Regions from separate parts of the Homo sapiens genome. Here regions 1, 2, 4, 5, 6 and 7 are each linked to region 3. Evidence: promoter capture Hi-C in 16 types of primary human blood cells and fetal thymus (Javierre and others, 2016). All regions are on one chromosome and are shown on one strand. The core of a region is centred on a gene start or on the middle of the fragment in contact, and the rest is flanking DNA. Distances in the headings are between cores, read along the strand shown.

The links. The method cuts DNA at HindIII sites, captures the fragments that hold promoters and counts their contacts. A CHiCAGO score of 5 or more calls a contact.
Region 1: a fragment that was not itself captured here is called in contact with the fragment with the promoter of AHSP in region 3 in 7 of 17 cell types (naive CD4 T cells, total CD8 T cells, total CD4 T cells and 4 more); the score reaches 7.5 in naive CD4 T cells.
Region 2: a fragment that was not itself captured here is called in contact with the fragment with the promoter of AHSP in region 3 in 1 of 17 cell types (erythroblasts); the score reaches 8.9 in erythroblasts.
Region 4: a fragment that was not itself captured here is called in contact with the fragment with the promoter of AHSP in region 3 in 5 of 17 cell types (total CD4 T cells, non-activated CD4 T cells, naive CD4 T cells and 2 more); the score reaches 5.7 in total CD4 T cells.
Region 5: a fragment that was not itself captured here is called in contact with the fragment with the promoter of AHSP in region 3 in 8 of 17 cell types (naive CD4 T cells, total CD4 T cells, total CD8 T cells and 5 more); the score reaches 8.0 in naive CD4 T cells.
Region 6: a contact is called between a fragment that was not itself captured here and the fragment with the promoter of AHSP in region 3, in 9 of 17 cell types (monocytes, fetal thymus, non-activated CD4 T cells and 6 more). The highest score is 9.2, in monocytes.
Region 7: a fragment that was not itself captured here is called in contact with the fragment with the promoter of AHSP in region 3 in 9 of 17 cell types (naive CD4 T cells, activated CD4 T cells, total CD4 T cells and 6 more); the score reaches 9.6 in naive CD4 T cells.

Annotation. Positions count from the first base shown.
Region 1 is chr16:31,930,768-31,933,467 of GRCh38, reverse strand. No RefSeq gene overlaps it. Among named protein-coding and RNA genes, the nearest start is that of ZNF267, 58 kb to the right of the region's middle. The HindIII fragment of the contact is 8,251 bases long and covers 1-2,700 here.
Region 2 is chr16:31,174,337-31,177,036 of GRCh38, reverse strand. It overlaps the pseudogene NDUFA3P6. Among named protein-coding and RNA genes, the nearest start is that of FUS, 4.5 kb to the left of the region's middle. The HindIII fragment of the contact is 8,665 bases long and covers 1-2,700 here.
Region 3 is chr16:31,526,513-31,529,212 of GRCh38, reverse strand. It overlaps AHSP (alpha hemoglobin stabilizing protein), which reads right to left and starts at 1,313. Exons shown (of 3, transcript NM_016633.4): 1 at 1,251-1,313; 2 at 999-1,077; 3 at 410-755. The coding sequence starts at 1,073. The coding sequence ends at 522. The HindIII fragment of the contact is 1,316 bases long and covers 990-2,305 here.
Region 4 is chr16:31,046,759-31,049,458 of GRCh38, reverse strand. No RefSeq gene overlaps it. Among named protein-coding and RNA genes, the nearest start is that of STX4, 15 kb to the right of the region's middle. The HindIII fragment of the contact is 4,212 bases long and covers 1-2,700 here.
Region 5 is chr16:31,911,537-31,914,236 of GRCh38, reverse strand. All of the region lies in intron 3 of ZNF267 (zinc finger protein 267), which reads right to left. Among named protein-coding and RNA genes, the nearest start is that of ZNF267, 39 kb to the right of the region's middle. The HindIII fragment of the contact is 1,026 bases long and covers 879-1,904 here.
Region 6 is chr16:31,882,305-31,885,004 of GRCh38, reverse strand. ZNF267 (zinc finger protein 267) reads right to left here. Exons shown (of 4, transcript NM_003414.6): 2 at 381-507. Among named protein-coding and RNA genes, the nearest start is that of ZNF267, 9.8 kb to the right of the region's middle. The HindIII fragment of the contact is 4,868 bases long and covers 1-2,700 here.
Region 7 is chr16:31,860,862-31,863,561 of GRCh38, reverse strand. It overlaps the pseudogene RBM22P13. Among named protein-coding and RNA genes, the nearest start is that of ZNF267, 12 kb to the left of the region's middle. The HindIII fragment of the contact is 9,415 bases long and covers 1-2,700 here.

The sequences.
Region 1 (2,700 bases), core at 184-2,683, 400 kb before region 3:
GGAAACATTAACAGTTATAAATTTGCCTGTGATTCCTCTTTTTGCTGTATTTCTTAAATTTTGGTAGGTTAGATTTTTAATATCATTTGTATCGAAGTATTTTTAAATTCTCATTATGGGCTGGATGTGGTGGCTTATTCCTGTAATCCCAGTACTTTGGGAGGCTGAGGTGGGTGGATCACTTGAGGTTAGGAGTTCAAGACCAGTCTGGCCAACATGGTGAAACCCCATCTCTACTAAAAATACAAAAAATTAGCTCAGCATGGTGGCACGCACCTGTAATCTCAGCTACTCGGGAGGCTGAGGCAGGAGAATCGCTTGAACCAGGGAGGCAGAGGTTGCAGTGAGCCGAGATTGTGCCACTGCACTCTAGCCTAGGTGACAGAGTGAGACTCCATCTCAAAAAAAAAATTGTTATGATTTCTCTTTGTCCCTCTGTTTGAGTGTATTGTTTTATTTAAATCTATTACAAATGTTCTAGTTTTCCTTTTGATATTGATTTCTCATGTTATTCCACTTGGCCAGAGAAAATTCTTTGATTTCCTTTAATCATTTTCAAATTAATTGAGAATTGTTTTGTGACCTAATAATATATAATGTCTCCTGGAAATTGTTCCATGTGCACTTGAAAAGAAAGTATTCTGCTTTTTTTGTGGGGGTGGGTGGAGTTTTTCATACATATTTGTTAGGTCTAGTTTGTTTATAGCGTTCTACCAGTCCCCTATTACTTATTGATGTTCTGCCTGATGGCTGGTGTCTATTTATTATTGAAAATGTGGAATTGAGGTATTTATTTGTTACTGTAGAATTGTTCATTTTCTCTTAAATTCTGTCCATTTTTAACATATTGTATATTTAATATATTTTCATATATTTGAGGGTTCTTCTGTAATATATGCATATGCTTATAATTGTTATATCTTCTTACTGGATTGGCCCTATTATCAATACATTGTCTTTGTCTCTTGTTACAACTTTGATGTGAAGCCTGTTATTTTCTGATGTGAGTATACTAACCACCTTTCCTTTGATTACTATTTGCATGTAATATCGTTTTTGATTCTTTCACTTTTAAACTATTTGAGCTTTTCAATGTTATGTAGACAGCATATGATTAGACGATGGTTTCTATTATTCATTCTGTGGTCTTCATTAAATAGTTTAACCCATTTATCTTAAAGTAATTACTCACAAGAAAGGACTGACTTCTCTCATTTTTCTATTCATTTTCTACCTGTGCTAAACCAGTTTTTGGCCCTTTTTGCCTACATTACTCCCTTCTCTAGTATCCGGTTTTGTACTCTATTACTTTGATTTTCTTCTTGTTTTCTTTTTAAAAAGTTTATTTTAGGTTCAGGGGTACATGTGCAGGTTTGTTATATAGGTAACTTGTGTGTCACAGGAATTTGGCATACAGATTCTTTTATCAACCAGGTAATAAACATAGTACCTGAGAGGTAGCTTTTTGTCCTCATCCTACTCCTACCCTCCACCCTCAAGTAGGTCCTGATGTCTGTTGTTCCCTTCTTTGTATCCATACATACTCAATGTTTATCTCCCCCTAATGAATGAAAACGTGATATTCGGTTTTCTGTTCCTGTGCTAGTTAATTTAAGATAATGGCCTCTAGCTCCATCCATGTTGCTGCAAAGGACACGATACTATTTTTTATAGCTGTACAGTATTCCATGGTGTATAGGTACTATGTTTTCTTTATCCAGTCTATCACTGATGGACATTTAGACTGATTCCATGTCTTTGCTATTGTGAATAGTTCTGTGATGAACATACATGTGAATGTGTCTTTATGGTAGAACAATTTATATTCCTTTGGGTATATACCCAATAATGGGATTGTGAGATTGAATGGTAATTCTGCCTTGAGTTCTTTCTGAAATTGCCAAACTGCTCTCCACAGTGGCTGAAGTAATTTACATTCCCACTAGCAGTATATAAGCGTTCCCTTTTCTCCACAACTTTGACAGCATCTTTTTTTATTTGACTTTTTAATAAAAGCCATTCTGACTGGTGAGAGATGGTATCTCATTGTGGTTTTGATTTGCATTCTTCTAATGATTACTGATGTTGAGCATTTTTTTCATATGCTCGTTGGCTGTGTGTGTCTTCTTTTGAGAAGTGTCTGTTCATGTCCTTTACCAACTTATTAATGGGCATTTTTGTTTTTGCTTGTACATGTATTTAAGTTTCTTATATATGCGGAATATTAGACCTTTGTCAGATGCATAGTTCACAAATACTATTTTCCCATTCTGTAGATTGTCTGTTTGCTCTGTTTATAATTTCCTTTTCCCGTGAAGAAGCTCTTTAGTTTAACTAGGTCTCATTTGTCAATTTTTCTTTTTGTTACAATTGCTTTTGGTGTCTTCATCATAAAATATTTGCCAAGGCCATGTCCAGAATGGTATTTCCTAGGTTGTCTTCAGGGTTTTTAATAGGTTTAGATTTTACATTTAAGTATTTATTCCACTTTGAGTTGATTTTTGTATATGGTGTAAGGGATGGGTCCAGTTTTACTCTTCTGTACATGGCTAGCTAGTTATCCCAGTACCATTTTTGCATTGGGAGTCTTTTCCTCATTGCTTGTTTTGGTCAATTTTATTGAAGATGAGAAGATTAAAGGTGTATGGCATTATTTCTAGATCTCTGTTTTGTTCCATTCTTCTGTGTGTCTATTTTTGG
Region 2 (2,700 bases), core at 6-2,505, 350 kb after region 3:
GCTCCAGCTGTGACTCTGGGCTGGGCATGGTGGCAGATGAGACTCGGCCTCAAAAAAAAAAAAATATGTGACTCTGAAAGACTAAATCAAATGGCCATTTCTTTCTTTCTTTTTTTTTTTTTTTTGAGATGGAGTCTCACTCTGTCACCCAGGCTGGAGTGCAGTGACGTGATCTCAGCTCACTGCAACCTCTGCCTCCCGGGTTCAAGCAATTCTTGTGCTGCAGCCTCCCGAGTAGCTGAGATTACAGGCATGCATCACCATGTCCAGCTAATTTTCCTATTTTTAGTAGAGACGGGGTTTCACCATATTGCCCAGGCTGTTCTCGAACTCCTGATCTCAAGTGATCCACCTGCCTCGAATGTTTTAATTTTTTTAACTAGTTGCCAACACTAAAAATAGTGGGCCATTCCAGGCCCACTTCCATAGGGCAAGGGTCAGCTGGAGTGAGACACTGTCACCTTTAGCTGCCATATGTGCTTTAAGTTCACCATAAATGTCTTATTTACTTCCTATCTCTGACAGGAAAGTCAATGTTAAATTTTTCTTTTTTGAGACAGGGTCTTGCTATGTTGCCCAGGCTGGTCTTGAACTCCTAGGCTCAAGGGAATCCTCCCAAAGTGCTGTGATTAAAGGTGTGACCACCACACCCAGTTTCAATTAACATGTATATCAGATATTGGGCCAGATGCGTTCGCTCACACCTGTAATCCCAGCACTTTGGGAGGCTGAGGTGGGCAGATCATGAGGTCAGGAGTTCGAGACCAGCCTGACCGACCTGGTGAAACCCCATCTCTACTAGAGATACAGAAATTGGCCGGGCATGGTGGCGCGCATCTGTAGTCCCAGCTACTCGGGAGGTTGAGGCAGGAGAATTGCTTGAGCCAGGGAGGCAGAGGTTGCGGTGAGCAGAGATTGTGCCATTGCACTCCAGCCTGGGCGACAGAGCAAGACTCCATCTCAATAAAAAAATAAACACGTATATCAGATATTGATTTTTTTTTGAGACAGAGTCTCACTCTGTCACCCAGGCTGGAGAGCAGTGCTGCAATCTCAGCTGACTGCAACCTCTACTTCCCAGGTTCCAGCAATTCTCCTGCCTCAGCCTCCTGAGTACCTGGGATTACAGATGTGCACCACCACACCCAACTAATTTTTTTAGTAGAGATGAGGTTTCCCTATGTTGGCCAGGCTGGTCTCGAACTCCTGACCTCAAATGATCTGCCTGCCTTGCTTTCCCAAGTGCTGGGATTAGAGGCATGAGCCACTGCACCCAGCTCAGATATCCAGATATTTATTTAGTTAGTTAGTTTTAATTTATTTATTTAATTTTTTTGTTTGTTTTTTTGAGACAGAGTCTCCCTCTGTCACCCAGGCTGGAGTGCAGTGGCACAATCTCAGCTCACTGCAACCTCCGCCTCCGGAGTTTGCAGTTCTCTGCCTCAGCCTCCCGAGTATCTGGGATTACAAGCTCCCACCATTACGCCTGGCTAATTTTTTGTATTTTTAGTAGAAACAGGGTTTCACCATCTTGGCCAGGCTGGTCTTGAATTCCTGACCTCCTGATCCACGCGCCTCGGCCTCCCAAAGTGCTGGGATTACAGGTCTGTGCCATCGTGCCAGGAAGTTACATATATATATATATTTATTTATATTTATATATATTTGTTTGAGATGGAGTCTCGCACTGTTGCCTGGGCTGGAGTGCAATGGCGCGATCTCGGCTCACTGCAATATCTGCCTCCCAGGTTCAAGCGATTCTCCTGCCTCAGCCTCCAAGTAGCTGGGATTACAGGCACCCGCCACCACGCCTGGCTAATTTTTTGTATTTTTTTTTAGTAGAGACGGGGTTTCACTATGTTGGCCAGGCTGGTCTCAAACACCTGACCTCGTGATCCACCCCTCCTCGGCCTCCCAAAGTGCTGTTACAAGCATGAGCCACTGCGCCCAGCCCCAGAATTTATTTTTTAAAGACAAGGTCTCATTTTGTTGGCCAGTTTTGTCTTGAACCCCTGGCCTCAAGCAATCTTCCTGCCTCGGCCTCCCAAAGTGCTAGAGTTACAGTTACAGGCATGAGCCACTGCGCCTGGCCTAGATCAAATATTTAATGCAATTTTTCTTTTTCTTTTCTTTTTTTTTTGAGCAGGGAGAGGTTGGTTTTCACATTTCTAGTGGGAGCCATGGGAGGGTCCTCCTTTGGCAGTGGAGGTGCTCACAATTTCTTCAGCCACTCCAAACTGGGGCCTTGGGGGTCCTGGGGGTGGCTGGGCACATCGGGCATGTTCCCATCATTGCAGACAGGCACTGGGTAGTTGTAGGGCCTTGCCTCGTTGATCATGATGGAGTACTTGGTGTGGGGACTAAGTGGGGGTAGAATTACAGTGAGGCTCCGGATGACAGAGGACAAGACCAGCACTGGCTCCTTGGCCCAGGAAATCTTGAGGAAGGTGCTGAGTCTCGTGGCCTTCTTGGTCTCGGTGGTGATGACAGCGGCCTTTTTTTTTTTTTTTGAGATTGAGTCTTGCTCTGTCACCCAGGCTGGAGTGCAGTGGCGCGATCTCGGCTCACTGCAACCTCCGCCTCCCAGGTTCAAGCAATTCTCCTGCCTCAGGCTCCCGAGTAGCTGGGATTATAGGCACGTGCCCCTACGCCCAACTAATTTTTGTACGTTTAGTAGAGATGGGGTTTCACCATGTTGGC
Region 3 (2,700 bases), core at 64-2,563:
TTGCGGTAGTCAGAGTCCGAAGATCCTAGAATGTAGTTTGAGCTGGGGCTAAGGACAGGGGATTGAAAAGTCGAGGCGGTGGACCTGGCGCAGGATGAACAAGACTGGGAGACTTCCAACAGTTTCCTCCTCGACAAGCAGGTCACAGGACAATGTCTGGAGGACTTCTATCCCCCTTTCTTGTTTCTGCCACCCCCTCCCCTGCAGCTCTGCACTCTCTCTAGTCCCGCCTTCCTGGCCCTCGTTCAGCCTGTTTTAGTTTAGAATCGCTGCCCGGTGGTCACTCAAGGCTGCTAACCTCTGCTGTAAGGAATTAAGCTTCCAAGAGCATATCTAAGAAGGAGGGCGGAAGGAAAGGGACCGAGTGCCTCCACATGTCAGGACAGACCATGAAAGAGAAGCCAGGAAGTCCAACAAAACCAGCACTGGTCTTTATTGAGGTGTCAGGGTAGAGTGGCAGGAGCACAGCCTAAGGACATGAAGGTCAGAGTTTCTCAGAGAGGAGGGGCTGGGTCCCTGAGCTAGGAGGAGGGCGGTGGGTGACTCGGGAGCTCATGAGACTTCAGGAAGTCCCTGTACTTGGCCAGGAAAGGGTTGGCCAGAGTGTTCAGCTCTTGCCGAAGCTCCTGCAGAGCCTTGTCTCGCTCTTGGGGCTCCCCTGTCACCTGCTGCCTGTAATAGTTGATGTAGAAGTTCATCCAGTCCTCCACCACAGTCACCATGTCTTCTTCAGAGACGAGAGGATCATTGAAGACCTGGGGGGTTGCGGAGAGGCAGTTGGCAAGGGAGAATGTGGTCAGCAATGGGATTCGGGAATACTAGAATAGTGCCACAGCACCAACTCTCACATTCTCTTTCCTCTGCATTGTATCCCGTGTCTCTCGTTGTTTCCATCAACTCCACCATTACTTCACCAGCTCCAATTATCCTCTTCCTCCACTTCCCCGGCACCCCCCAGTCTCCAGGCCAGTCCTTTGAAATGGAAAGCTTGGACTCACCTGCTGATTCAGCAGAACGCTGAACTCCTTCAATCCTGCGGAAATGAGATCCTTATTGGCCTTAAGAAGAGCCATCTGCCTGGGTAGAGAAAAGGGTAGAATTTACATATCTGTTTCCCTCCTCACTGGGTATTTCCCCCAACCCACTTCCTCCCCTTAAAAATCCCTCCTGCCCTGCAGGGCTATCTCCTTTCCAAAACCTTTCACATCCTGCCCTGCTCTGAGGTCACGATTTTCCCAGGTTGGGCTCACCTTCAGGTCTAACAGGCTGTATATGTCTCACCCACACTCTTGAGGGTGCGTGAATCTCTCTGTGCCAAGCTATAGATGTAGGCAAGGAGTCAAGTGTCAGCCTAAGATAGAAACGCCCTGCATCTAGGTCCTGAAGGAGGGTGATAGGTCATTCTAGGGAGGAGAAGAAGGGAGAGGCTTCCCTGAAGGTAGAAAGATAACAAGGCCAAAAAAAAAAAAAAAAAAGATAAATGAGGAAACCCAGGAAATGCAAGAAGGCAAGAGCCAAACCAGGGGCATGTTCCTGCTTTTTGCCCCATATTTCAGTATCCAGGCTCGAAATGCTATGGAAATTGACGTTTACTGAGCCCTATTACATGACAGAGGCTTTTGTGTAATCACAACGATGTGATCGCAATGATTCTCCCAATTCGGAGATGATGTATTAATAGCAGCTTGCATTACATTTATTCATTTGTGCCAAGCACTGTTTCAAACATGTACAAAATATTTATCCTATAAAATTTCTTTTTAGACACATTTTGCAGATAAGCCACCTGTAAGCGTGTGGACTGAACTCCACCACGCTGTGCTCCATAAGAATGGAGATAAATAGCCGGGCGTGGTGGCGGGCACCTGTAGTCTCAGCTACTTGGGAGGCTGAGGCACGAAAATCGCTTGAACCCAGGAGGCAGAGGTTGCAGTGAGCCAAGATCACACCACAGCACTCCAGCCTGGGTGACAGGGCGAGACTCCATCTCAAAAGAAAAAAAAGAATGGAGATGGATTTGTCTTGTTTACTACCCTGTCAACAGGTACCCAATAAAGCAGAAATACTCTTTTTCCTCTTTTTAAATATTTTTCCAGATATTTTCCATTTTCAGTAGATGTTTCTCAAATTTCAAAATCACTATATACTAATTGAAATAATTAAAACAATACAAAAACGTACACTGAAAAACTGAATCATTTTTGCCCCCTCCAAAGTAACCAGCATTAAACATTGTATATTTCCTGTCACTTTTTTTTTCCATTCAAAACCCAACATTCATAGGTGCCTATACACTCATAAAGCTTTGTTGATTTGCCTTTTTGGTTGTAGCATTTTTTAATCAATATACAGCAAAACTGACTTCCTTTTGGTGTACAGTATATTAAATTTTTTTTTTTTGAGAGGGAGTCTCCCTCTGTGGCCCAGGCTGGAGTGCAGTGATGCGATCTCAGCTCACTGCAAACTTTACCTCCCAGGTTCAGGCGATTCTCCTGCCTCAGCCTCCCAAGTAGCTGGGATTACAGGCGTGCATCACCACGCCTAGCTAATTTTTGTATTTTAGTAGAGATGGGGTTTCACCATGTTGGCCAGGCTAGTCTCGAACTCCTGACCTCAAGTGATCGACCCACCTTGGCCTCCCAAAGTGCTGGGATTACAGGTGTGAGCTACCGCATCTGGCCTAGTTTATTAATTTTATAA
Region 4 (2,700 bases), core at 108-2,607, 480 kb after region 3:
ACACACACACGAACACATCCAACATATAAAGCAGAACAAGGACAGGAGAACAGCAGAGCACACTCCCGTTCAGAAGGAAGGACAGGGCCCGGTGCGGTGGCTCATGCCTGTAATCCCAGCACTTTGGGAGGCCGAGGCCGGTGGATCACCTGAGGTCAGGAGTTTGAGACCACCCTGGCCAACACGGTGAAAACCTGTCTCTACTAAAAATACAAAAATTAGCCAGGCGCAGTGGCTCACGTCTGTAATTCCAGCACTTTGGGAGGCCGAGGGGGGCAGATCACAAGGTCAGGAGTTCAAGACCAGCCAGGCCAACATAGTGAAACCCGGTCTCTACTAAAAATACAAAAAGTTAGCCGGGCGTGGTGGCGGGCCCCTGTAGTCCCAGCTACTCAGGAGGCTGAGACAGGAGAATCGCTTGAACCCAGGAGGCAGAGGTTGCAGTGAGCCGAGATCGTGCCATTCCACTCCAGCCTGGGCGACAGTGCAAGACTCCGTCTCAAAAACAAAAACAAAAAACCCCAAAACCAAAAATTAGCCAGGCGTGGTGGCATGCACCTGTAGTCCCAGCTACTCGGGAGGCTGAGGCAAGAGAATCGCTTGAACCCAGGAGGCAGAGGTTGCAGTGAGCCGAGATAGTGCCATTGCACTACAACATGGGTGACAAAAGTGAAACTCTGTCTCAAAAAAAAAAAAAAAAAAAAAAAAGGAAGGAAGGACAGGAGACACACAGCAGGCTCTGGGCCCCACTAAGTCTAAAGTGCTGCTGGGCAGATGTTGAGAAGAACCCCCACTTTTCCCTGGGAGTGGGAAGAGTTCCCTAGTTCATTCTTCACCATGTTCTTGGCTCTGCCCTTAGAGTAAACCACCCTTTTCCACTTATTCTCCTTGGCCACAATTGAGAGGACACTGGTGGTTATGTCTTTCTGAAGTAGAGTAGCTTTCTCAGTCTCCTTCATGCCCATAGAAATTTGGAGACCCATGGCCAGGTGCGGTGGCTCACGCCTATAACCCCAACACTTTGGGAGGCCGAGGCGGGCAGATCACGAGGTCAGGAGATCGAAACCATCCTGGCGAACACAGTGAAACCCTGTCTCTACTAAAAATACAAAAAAAAATTAGCCGGGCATGGTGGCGGGCGCCTGTAGTCCCAGCTACTCGGGAGGCTGAGGCGGGAGAACGGCGTGAACCTGGGAGGCAGAGCTTGCAGTGAGCCGAGATCACACCACTGCACTCCAGCCTGGGTGACAGAACGAGACTCCGTCTCTAAAAAAAAAAAAGAAATTTGGAGACCCAGGCCGGGCATGGTGGTTCACATCTGCAATCACAGTATTTTGAGAGGCTAAGGCAGGAGGATCACTTGAGGCAAGGATTGCTTGAGGCCAGCCTGGGCAACATACAGAGACCCCCATCTCTACTAAAAACAAAACAAAACAAAACAAAAAAAAACCTGAAATACAAAAATTAGGCTGGGCATGGTGGCTCACACCTGTAATCCCATCACTTTGGGAAGCCAACGAGGGAGAACTCCTTAAGACCAGAAGTTCAAGACCAGCTTGGGCAACAGGCTGAAATCCTCTCCAGAAAAAAATAGAAAAATTAGCCAGGTGTGGTGGCGCATGCCTGTAGTCCCAGCTACTCAGAAGGCTGAGGTGGGGGGATCACTGGAGCCCTAGAGGTAGAGGCTGCAGTGAGGCTTGATTGTGCCACTGCACTCCAGCTGGAGTGACAGAGCAAGACTTCATCTCAAAACAAAACAAAGCAAAACAAAACAAAAATAGGCTGGGCATGGTGGTACACTGCACGCCTATAATGCCAGCACTTTGGGAGGCCAAGACAGGTGAATCGCTTGAGTTCAGGAGTTCGAGACCAGCCTGGGCAATATAGCAAGACCCTGTCTCTACCAAAAAAATACAAAAATTAGCCGGGCATGGTAGCGCACACCTGTAGTCCCAGCTACTTGGGAGGCTGAGGTAAGTGGATCACTCAAGCCCAGGAAGCGGAGGTTGCAGTGAGCCAAGATCGTGCCACTGCACTTCAGCCTGGGTGGCAGAGTGAGATTTTGTTTCAAAAAAATTTGAAAAACAAAAATTAGCCTGCTGGGGTGGCATGGGCCTGTAGTCCCAGCTACTTGGGAGGCTGAGGCAGGAGGATCGTGTGAGCCCAGAAGTTCGAGGTTATAGAGAGCTGTGGTTGCATCACTGCACTCCAGGCTGGGTGACAGAGTGAGACCCGGTCTCCGAAATAAAAAAAAAGAAAGAAACTTGGGGACCTAAAAATCATACTAAGTATTGAACACTCATGGTCAAGATTTAACCTGGTGGCTTTTTGTCAGGGTGAGGGGGTGTTAGGCAGGGGAAGCAGGGCAATTCCCTCCAAAACTGAACTTACGTATTTTACTCCATTCAGATCCATGGGTCAACAGCATACCCATAATTCTTTTCAGACATAACCATGACGTTAGACTTAACTGTAGTTGAGCCTACTGACTCCCTCAGGTAAGCTACATTTTTTTTTTTTTTTGAGATGGAGTTTCACTCTTGTTGCCCAGGCTGGAGTGCCATGGGTGATCTTGGCTCACTGCAACCTCCGCCTCCCAGGTTCAAGCAATTCTCCTGCCTCAGCCTCCCAAGTAGTTGGGATTACAGGCATGCACCACCATGCCTGGCTAATTTTGTATTTTTAGTAGAGACGGGGTTT
Region 5 (2,700 bases), core at 142-2,641, 380 kb before region 3:
AGCATCTGCATGGCGGGGAGAAATCTGTTCATTTGGGAGACGGAGAGCACAGTGACTAGGGGACTACAATGAACCCAGTGCTGCCCTATCACAGCAGAGACCTGGCAGGATTCATCACCTTCTGACTTAGGAGCTGCTGGTCTCTGAATAACCTACAGTGGTACCCCAATAACACATCATGAACATTGGACTCCGAGATGTGCTGGCTTCAGGTGTGACCCAGAACATTTCCCACTGTGGTGGGTATAGTGAAAGACACCTTCTGTTTGAGCAAAGCAGAGGAAAAAGTAAATGGGATTCTGTCTTGCACCTGAGGTACCAGCTTGGCCACAGTGGGGTAGAGCACCAAGCAGACTCTTAGGGTCCCTGAGTCAGCATTTCTGGACCTGCCCTGCACCAAAGAGTAAGTCCCAGTTGTGGAAGCAGTCATCATAAGCTGACTGAAGAGTGCTTGGGTGTTGAGTGAACATCAGTGATAGCCCAGTGGAAACCCCTGTGGGCTGGTGGTGGTGGCAGACACATTGTGAGGCTCCTCTGCCTGCAGAAAGGGGAGGGAGGAGTGGTAAGGATGTTGTCTTGTAATTTGAATGCCAGCTTAGCTGCAGTAGAATAGAACACGAGATAAATAAGGCTTCTGACTTCAATACCTGGCTCCCACACAATATCTCTGAACCTACCTGGGGCCAAAGGGAACTCACTGCCCTGAGGAGACACAAACCTGGCTGGTTACCACCTGCTGATTGTAGAGGCCTAAGGTCTTGAGTAAACTTAGGTGGTAGCCAGGCAGTAATTACACTGGGCCTTGGGTGACACCCAGTGCTGTGCTCACTTCAAGTCTAAATTAGCACAGTCCCAGTGGTGGGGGCAACAGGGAAGCTTATGTCATCCCACCCCAGCTCCAGGTAGCTCAGCATAGAGAAAGAAATTCCATTCGTCTGGAAGAAACTAAGGGAAGAGAACAAGAGTCTCTGCTTGGTAATCCAGATAATTCATCGATTTTAACCAAGACCAACCACATGGTACCTCTATGAGTCTGCAAGAACAACGTTATTGAGTTTGAGATCCAAGTACCTTCAAATTCTGGAAAGCCTTCCCAACAAGGGTGGACACAAAGCCCAGACTGCGAAGGCTACAATAAATGCCTAACTCTTCAATGCCAAGACACAGATGAACATCTACACATTAAGACCATCCAGTAAAATATGGCCTCACCTAACAAACTGAATAAGGCATAAGAGGCCAATCCTGGAGAAACAAAATAAGTAACTTTTCAGACAGATGATTCAACATAGTTGTGTTGAGGAAACAAATTCAAGATAAAATAGAGAAGGAATTCAGATTCTATCAGATAAATCAAACAAAGAGGTTGAAATAATTAAAAGGAATCAAGCAGAAATTGAAGTTAAAAAAGCAATTGGCATACTGAAGAATGCATCAGTCTCTTAATAGCAAAACTGATCAGGCAAAAGAAAAAATTATTGAGCTTGAACATAGGCAATTTGAAAATATGTAGAGAAGACAAAAAAGAATGAAGTATGCCTACAAGATTTAGAAAACACCCTGAAAAGGGCAAATCTAAGAGTTGTTAGCCTTAAAGAGAGAAAGAGACAGGGGTAGAAAGTTTCAAGAATACGATCAGAGAACTTCCCAAATCTATAAAGATATCAATATCCAAGTACAACCAGGTTACAGAACACAAAGCAGATTGAACCCAAAGACGACTACCTCAAGACATTTAATAATCAAACTCCCAAAAATTAAGAATAAAGGATCCTAAAAGCAGCAAGAAAAAAGAAACAGCATACAATGAAACTCCAGTACGTCTGGCAGCAGATTTTCAGTGGAAATCTTACAGGCCAGGAGAGAATAGCATGACATATTTAAAGTGCTGAAGTAGCAAAGCTTTTACACTAGAATAGTCTATCCCGTGAAAATATTCCATAGCCATGAAGGAGAAAAAAATGACCTTCCCAGACAAACACTGAGAGATTTCATTAAAACCAGACCTGTCCTACAAGTAATACTAAGGGGCATTCTCTTCCATCTGTAAGAAAAGAATGTTAATGAACAATAAGAAGTCATCTGAAGGTACAGAACTCATTGGTAATAGCACAGAGAAAAACTGAGTATTATAATATGGTAACTGTGGTGTGTAAAATACTCAAGTAGAAATACTCAATGATGACTCAATACAACTACAACAATGTTTCAAGACAAAGACAGTACAATAAGACATAAAGAGAACCAACAAAAAGTTGAAAAATGGGGAAGCAAAGTTAAAGGTAGAGTTTTTACTAGTTTTCTTATTGCTTATTTGTTCACTTAGGCAATCAGTGTGAAGTTGTCAGCAGTTAAAACAATAGGTTATAAGATAGTATTTGTAAGTTTCATGGTAACCTCAAATAAAAAAACATACAACAGACACAGAAACCAAAAAGCAAGAAATTAAATCATACCACCAAGAAAAATCATGTTCACTAAAATGAAGACAGAAAGGAAGGACAAAAGAAAGAGAAGATGCAAAAACAAATAACAAAATGGCAGGAGTGAACACATACTTATCAATAATAATGCTGAATGGAAATGCACTAAACACTCCAATTAGATGACATAGAATGGGTGAAAAAAAGAAAAAGGAAGACCCAATTATCTGCTGCCCACAAGAAATACACTTCATCTATAAAGATACACATAGACTGA
Region 6 (2,700 bases), core at 130-2,629, 360 kb before region 3:
TTTCTCAAAATATTGTTTCCTACCAGCTTCTTTAGAATATTTAGGAAGCATTTTAAATCTGGGGATCCTGAGCTTCTGCAAATCTGACTGAATCAAAAACAAACAAAAAAAATTGGATTTTAAAGTGTAAGCAACAATAGTTTATGTCAACCAATTTCTAGAATCACGACTAGAGTGAAACTTGTACATCACCTCAAATAAAAAGGCGAATGTCAAAATCAAACATTATGAAATTTTTTCTACTTCAACAAAACCCCTATTTTTTTCCTGAAAACAAGAATCTAAAACTAACTCATACAAAGCACAAGATCCCAAGGGACATTCTGAAAAGAAAATAAAACTCTTAGTTATTAGATATTCCGAAGGCAAGTTATCCTCACCCAGAGAGACCAGGTTTCTGTAGTTTTCTAACATCACATCCTGATACAAATTCTTCTGAGCTGGTTCCAGGTGTTCCCACTCCTCCAAAGAGAATTCTACGGCCACATCCCTGAATGTCAACAGTCCCTGAAATAAAAATAAAGAATACACTGACCATGTGGCCATGGCAGAGTTCTTCATTTGTCCCAAGATGAAATGACAGTTATTGGTTCTGACATATATGAGTGACCTGAATTATTCAGTAAGATCATTTTTAACACAGTAATATTTTCTAATGTAGTCTCAAACTCTGTGGAAAGAAAATAACATAAAATCCACAAAACTAGTGTAGATATTTATATCAAATGTAAAATATAAAACTAAGGCATCAACACAGGAATATACATTTTTGGGTGCTATATTTACATCATCCAGAATCAGCTGTGTATAATTCTCAGGTGCAAAAGTCATGGTGACTTAGAGGCATACTTCTCAAATTGTATAGTATACAACAATAAACTGGAGATCTTCTTCAAAGGCAGAGTCTGATTCAGGAGATCTAGATTTTGAGTTTCTGCATTTCCATATTTTTTAATTTTTAATTTTGACACAGGGTCTCGCTCTGCCACCCAGGCTGGAGTGCAGTGGTTGAATCTTGGCTCACTGCAGCCTCAACCTCCTGGGCTCAGGCGATCCTCCTGTTTCAGCCTCCTGAGTAGCTAAGGCTACAGGCATGAGCCACCATGGCTGGCTGAGTATCTGCATGTCTAACAAGTTCACCAGTAGTGTTAATGCTTCAGGCCCCAAAGCCACTTTTGAATAGCAGAGAGGTCGAACACTGAGGAAAGAATTCAGGCATGATGTGAAACTGAGAGTTTTATGAAATTTACAAGTTATAACAGCTAGAATGGTAGTAATCCTTTTTGAACATGCACAATATATCAGATATCATCCTAAAAGTTGTTTACATATATAAAACCCAATAAATAATCTGAGAAAAATTATATTCTTCCTCTTATATAAAAATTATTTTCCAAATATTTGCTACATAGTAGTTTGTATTTTGCCTCAGTTTATCTGATTTAGAATTTATCTCAAAGGGACATACCGGCCAATATACAGAGACAACCTTAACAGAATGTTCAGAGAAGATTTCGTAACTGAGTAACGAAAACAAGAAAGCAGCCACACAATAGTGATCGAATAATGCTTTCATTTTATGTGCATATGTGCACATAATGGTAACTATATACACACTAAAAGTAAGATAATATTTCTGTGTAAATAAAATTTAAAAATATTTTAAATTGTATAAAAACTATAAAACTCTTTGTGGGTGATGCCTTTTTTGTGATGCCTTTATAAAGACCAATACATACAATGAAATAAAGTAAAGGCTCTTGTTTCTGAGTCTGGTATTTTTTTTCAAGTTTTTGTTATGTTTATTCTATGTGCTATTATATATTTTAGAATTTTAAGACAATAGACATATTTGTTATATGTTAATTCTTGTTCTTTCTCTGAAAATATAGAGAATAAATAAGCATATGCTTGTGACATGAGATGAAATAAAATGGAAACCTACAGAACTGAGACCTGCTTCAGAACTTCCAGTCTTAAAAGCTGTTATCTCCTGTCAACAAATGTGAGAGCCTTTACTCTGCAAAGAAAGCTACAAGCAAAGGGAAACCAAAAAGAAATGGGAGTCTCTGGATTAAATGTGATGGTTTATAGACATCACTCAGTAAATCCTCCCTCCTAGATACTCATTACAAAGAGAAAAATGATTAACTTTATAGCGAAGGAATCTGACAGAGAGCACCTGCACCAAGTGAATGAAGTTAGCATCGTCTGTAATAAGACAAATTGGTACCAGTGCTAATGCACAGATGGGCCCATAATCATTGCTGTGATATGGGCGGAGGGGAACAGTAAATCATAATCTTAATATAATCATAAAAAAACAATCTGTGGGGGAAGATACAGGTGACCATAGATCTTCAAACTGGTTATGTGACCCTACTTAGAAGCCTGGGCTGAGAATCACTTAGCTAAGCATTGCCTCTCAAGGTTCAATACGCATACATATCATTTGGTATTCTGGGCCCCCTCTAAGTAATGTGATTCTGCAGGTTTGGAAAGTTTCCATGAACTGGCTTCTTTAACAAGTCCCCTGTCAATGCTGATGTTGCTCCTCCTAGACCCATTATCAATAGCACTCAGCTAGAGGAAGCAGACACAGCACAGAGTCCCTTACGCCCAATACTCTAATCACAACAAAAATACTTTTCGTTCACAGTGAGGACCACCAACCACTGTCCTGAAAGATCACACCCTTTG
Region 7 (2,700 bases), core at 57-2,556, 330 kb before region 3:
CAGGACCACCACCATTGTGTCAGCCCAGCTTTTCCTTCTGCCCCTGGTTCTTGAGATCTTGAGATCATGAGAAATTTCCTTTGAAAGTATGTGATTCCTCTTTCTTGATTCAAGGTGAAACTCTCTTCCAAGGAATCCCCATTCTTGTAGGAAACTCTGGATTTCCTAGTCTCTCCAAGGACTGGCCTACAAGGGACAGAGAAAAGTGAATACACCTTGAAACTACTCAGAGTGTATATTTGAGTGACTTTCAGAGACCCTCCCTCTATGCCACCAAGGCCTAAGCATGACCTTGTTTCTGTTGGTGGGAGATGATAAAACCTTACTTGGCAAGTTTGAAAACGAGGATTGCTGGGCGAAGTAATGTCCAATCTTTAAACTCATGGACATATCAGGAAGCATCTGTGCATCTGGATATTTATGATGCTCAATAATGGATAAAGACACCTGAAAAGTGAGTGAACAAAAGAATTTTCAGGCTAAATATTCCTTCCCCTGAAGGGTTCTTCCTTTGTTTCAGGCATAGCGATCTGGCCTGAGAAGGGGCCTTGGGTCACCTTGTGGTCACCAGGACTTGCTTGCAAGAGCTCCATGTATAACAGGCCATAGACTCATCATCTGTGGAGCCACTCCTGTTGCCCAGAATAAGAATTCATGGCTGCCAAAAGTGCCTGTGGTTAGAGCAGAAAGATTGCGAGTTGGTGGGGGAAGAGAGCTAATCCAAAAATTAAAGAAAAGGGTATTCAAACATGAGATAATCTCTTTATCATGCCTTTCCTATAAGTTGATTAAATACGGGAAATCACAGTACTGAAAATAATAATCTAAAATTCTAACTACTAAACTTTGAGCTACGATATATGTGTCACTATAAAGTAATAGAGAATTTATCTCAGTCCAAAATTAATAACAAAGAATTTCAAAATCAGTTTTGAGCTTTGCCTTCTATGTATGTGAAAGAACAAGATCCAGACTCCCTCCAGCATCAAACAAGTAGAAAGCCAGATCCACTATGTGACCTAAATGTGTCCAGATGCTAGAAAGTATCTGATAGGGGCACAGGACAGTGGCCTGGAGGCTGAATCCAAGGGAGGGGACCCCCTGGCTGCCCCAACTCAGAGCCTGCAGAGAGCGTCCAGGAGGCAGTGCAGTGAGGCAGGATCCCGACAGAGCATGGAAATCCCTGAGTTTAGGAAACAGGATTGATGATATAAGGAGAAAGGTGGCTGGAAGGCACAGGGCTGAGTACCAGAGAGCAGGAGGGAGTGGCTGAACTGAGGTAAGACTGGAGAGTAGAAGATGGGGGGTCACTGAACCATTGGCAGATACAAGGGTAATCACCAATTAAACAAATTTGTCCCAGTGAAAGAGGAAAAAGGAACCCTGCCTTTTTCTTTCAGAGCATTTTTAAAAGAAAACTTGTCCCTATGAGTTTCTTCTCTGTCCCCTTGTGACGTATGGAAGTCTCCAAAAGTTAAGTAAGCCGCTTACCAACTTCCAACCAGGACTGTCTTTCTCAAGGGCCTGGGAGCCATCTCTCTAAAATGGAATCATTAAGGGAGCAAGTTCCCATGAGAGGGTAGGAGCCCAGCTTCCGCCAGTGCCTGGCTCTAACTTACTAACCTACTCCTGCCATAAACTATGAGACACTGGTCTTTTCTTGTCATAAATGTGATTAGTGAACACAGTGGGTACCCTTGAGGGACATGTAAAAACAGTGCTGTCAAGTCCCTTCCCTGAGGACTGGTTACTGTTTATCTCGGGAACACGCATGCACTGGTTGTAGCTGCCTGGCTATGCACAAGGGTGAGATTTCCTTCTTTCTTGCAATGTGCTAGGTTATTATCTGTTTTGTGCATCACAATGCCGTTTAATGATTCTTCAATGAAACTGTTTTCTTTCTCTTCTATCTTTCCGGAGAGATTTCCTGAGTTGGCAAGAGACTTTGTTGTTAATCATATTCCCCACCACAGGTAGTGACATCACTATGCTAGAGGGGAGCTGAAGACCTGAGTGGCAGCATCTCTCCCTGCTGCCTCAGCCAAGGCCCCAGTGCCCAGGAAGGGATGCCACCACCTGGAGTAGAGCCTCAGATGGGAACTAATATCAGTAACTTGATATTTCTGCTTGGATAATGGGCAAATTAGAGATAGCTCAGTTTAATCCATTCACAACCAAGCATTTCAGTTCTGGGGAAGACAGACTAGACATACATGTCTCTATTCTTCCCAATAAGTACAACTAAAATCCCTGGACATTATACATGAAACCAAATGGAGAAAGCTCTAAAAGGTGGAAGAAAGCAAGCATACTGTTCGTGAACCGAAGAAAGATGTGATAACAGAGTGGGGTGAAACACGGGTTTCTTTGCCCATATACTGTAGTCTTGGAGCTAAAGAAACTGGCAACTCAGATACACCAATAGGCAAAGGCAAAAAAATAAAACCAGAAAACTTTTATCCAGTGACTGCCCTACTACAGCCAAAACCACTGAAAAACCATGGCTGCCTGCCCACGTATGCCACCAAAAGCCAAATGAGAGGCTAGAGTTTCACCTATGCCAGGATGAAATGCAGACAGCACCATAGGCTTTCTTTCCCTTTTGTGTTTTATAAATTGTATTTGATGCTTTAAGGAAAAATGGTAAGATTTTCAACTATGATAATTTCTGTATATAACGTAATATCTTGATCACACACT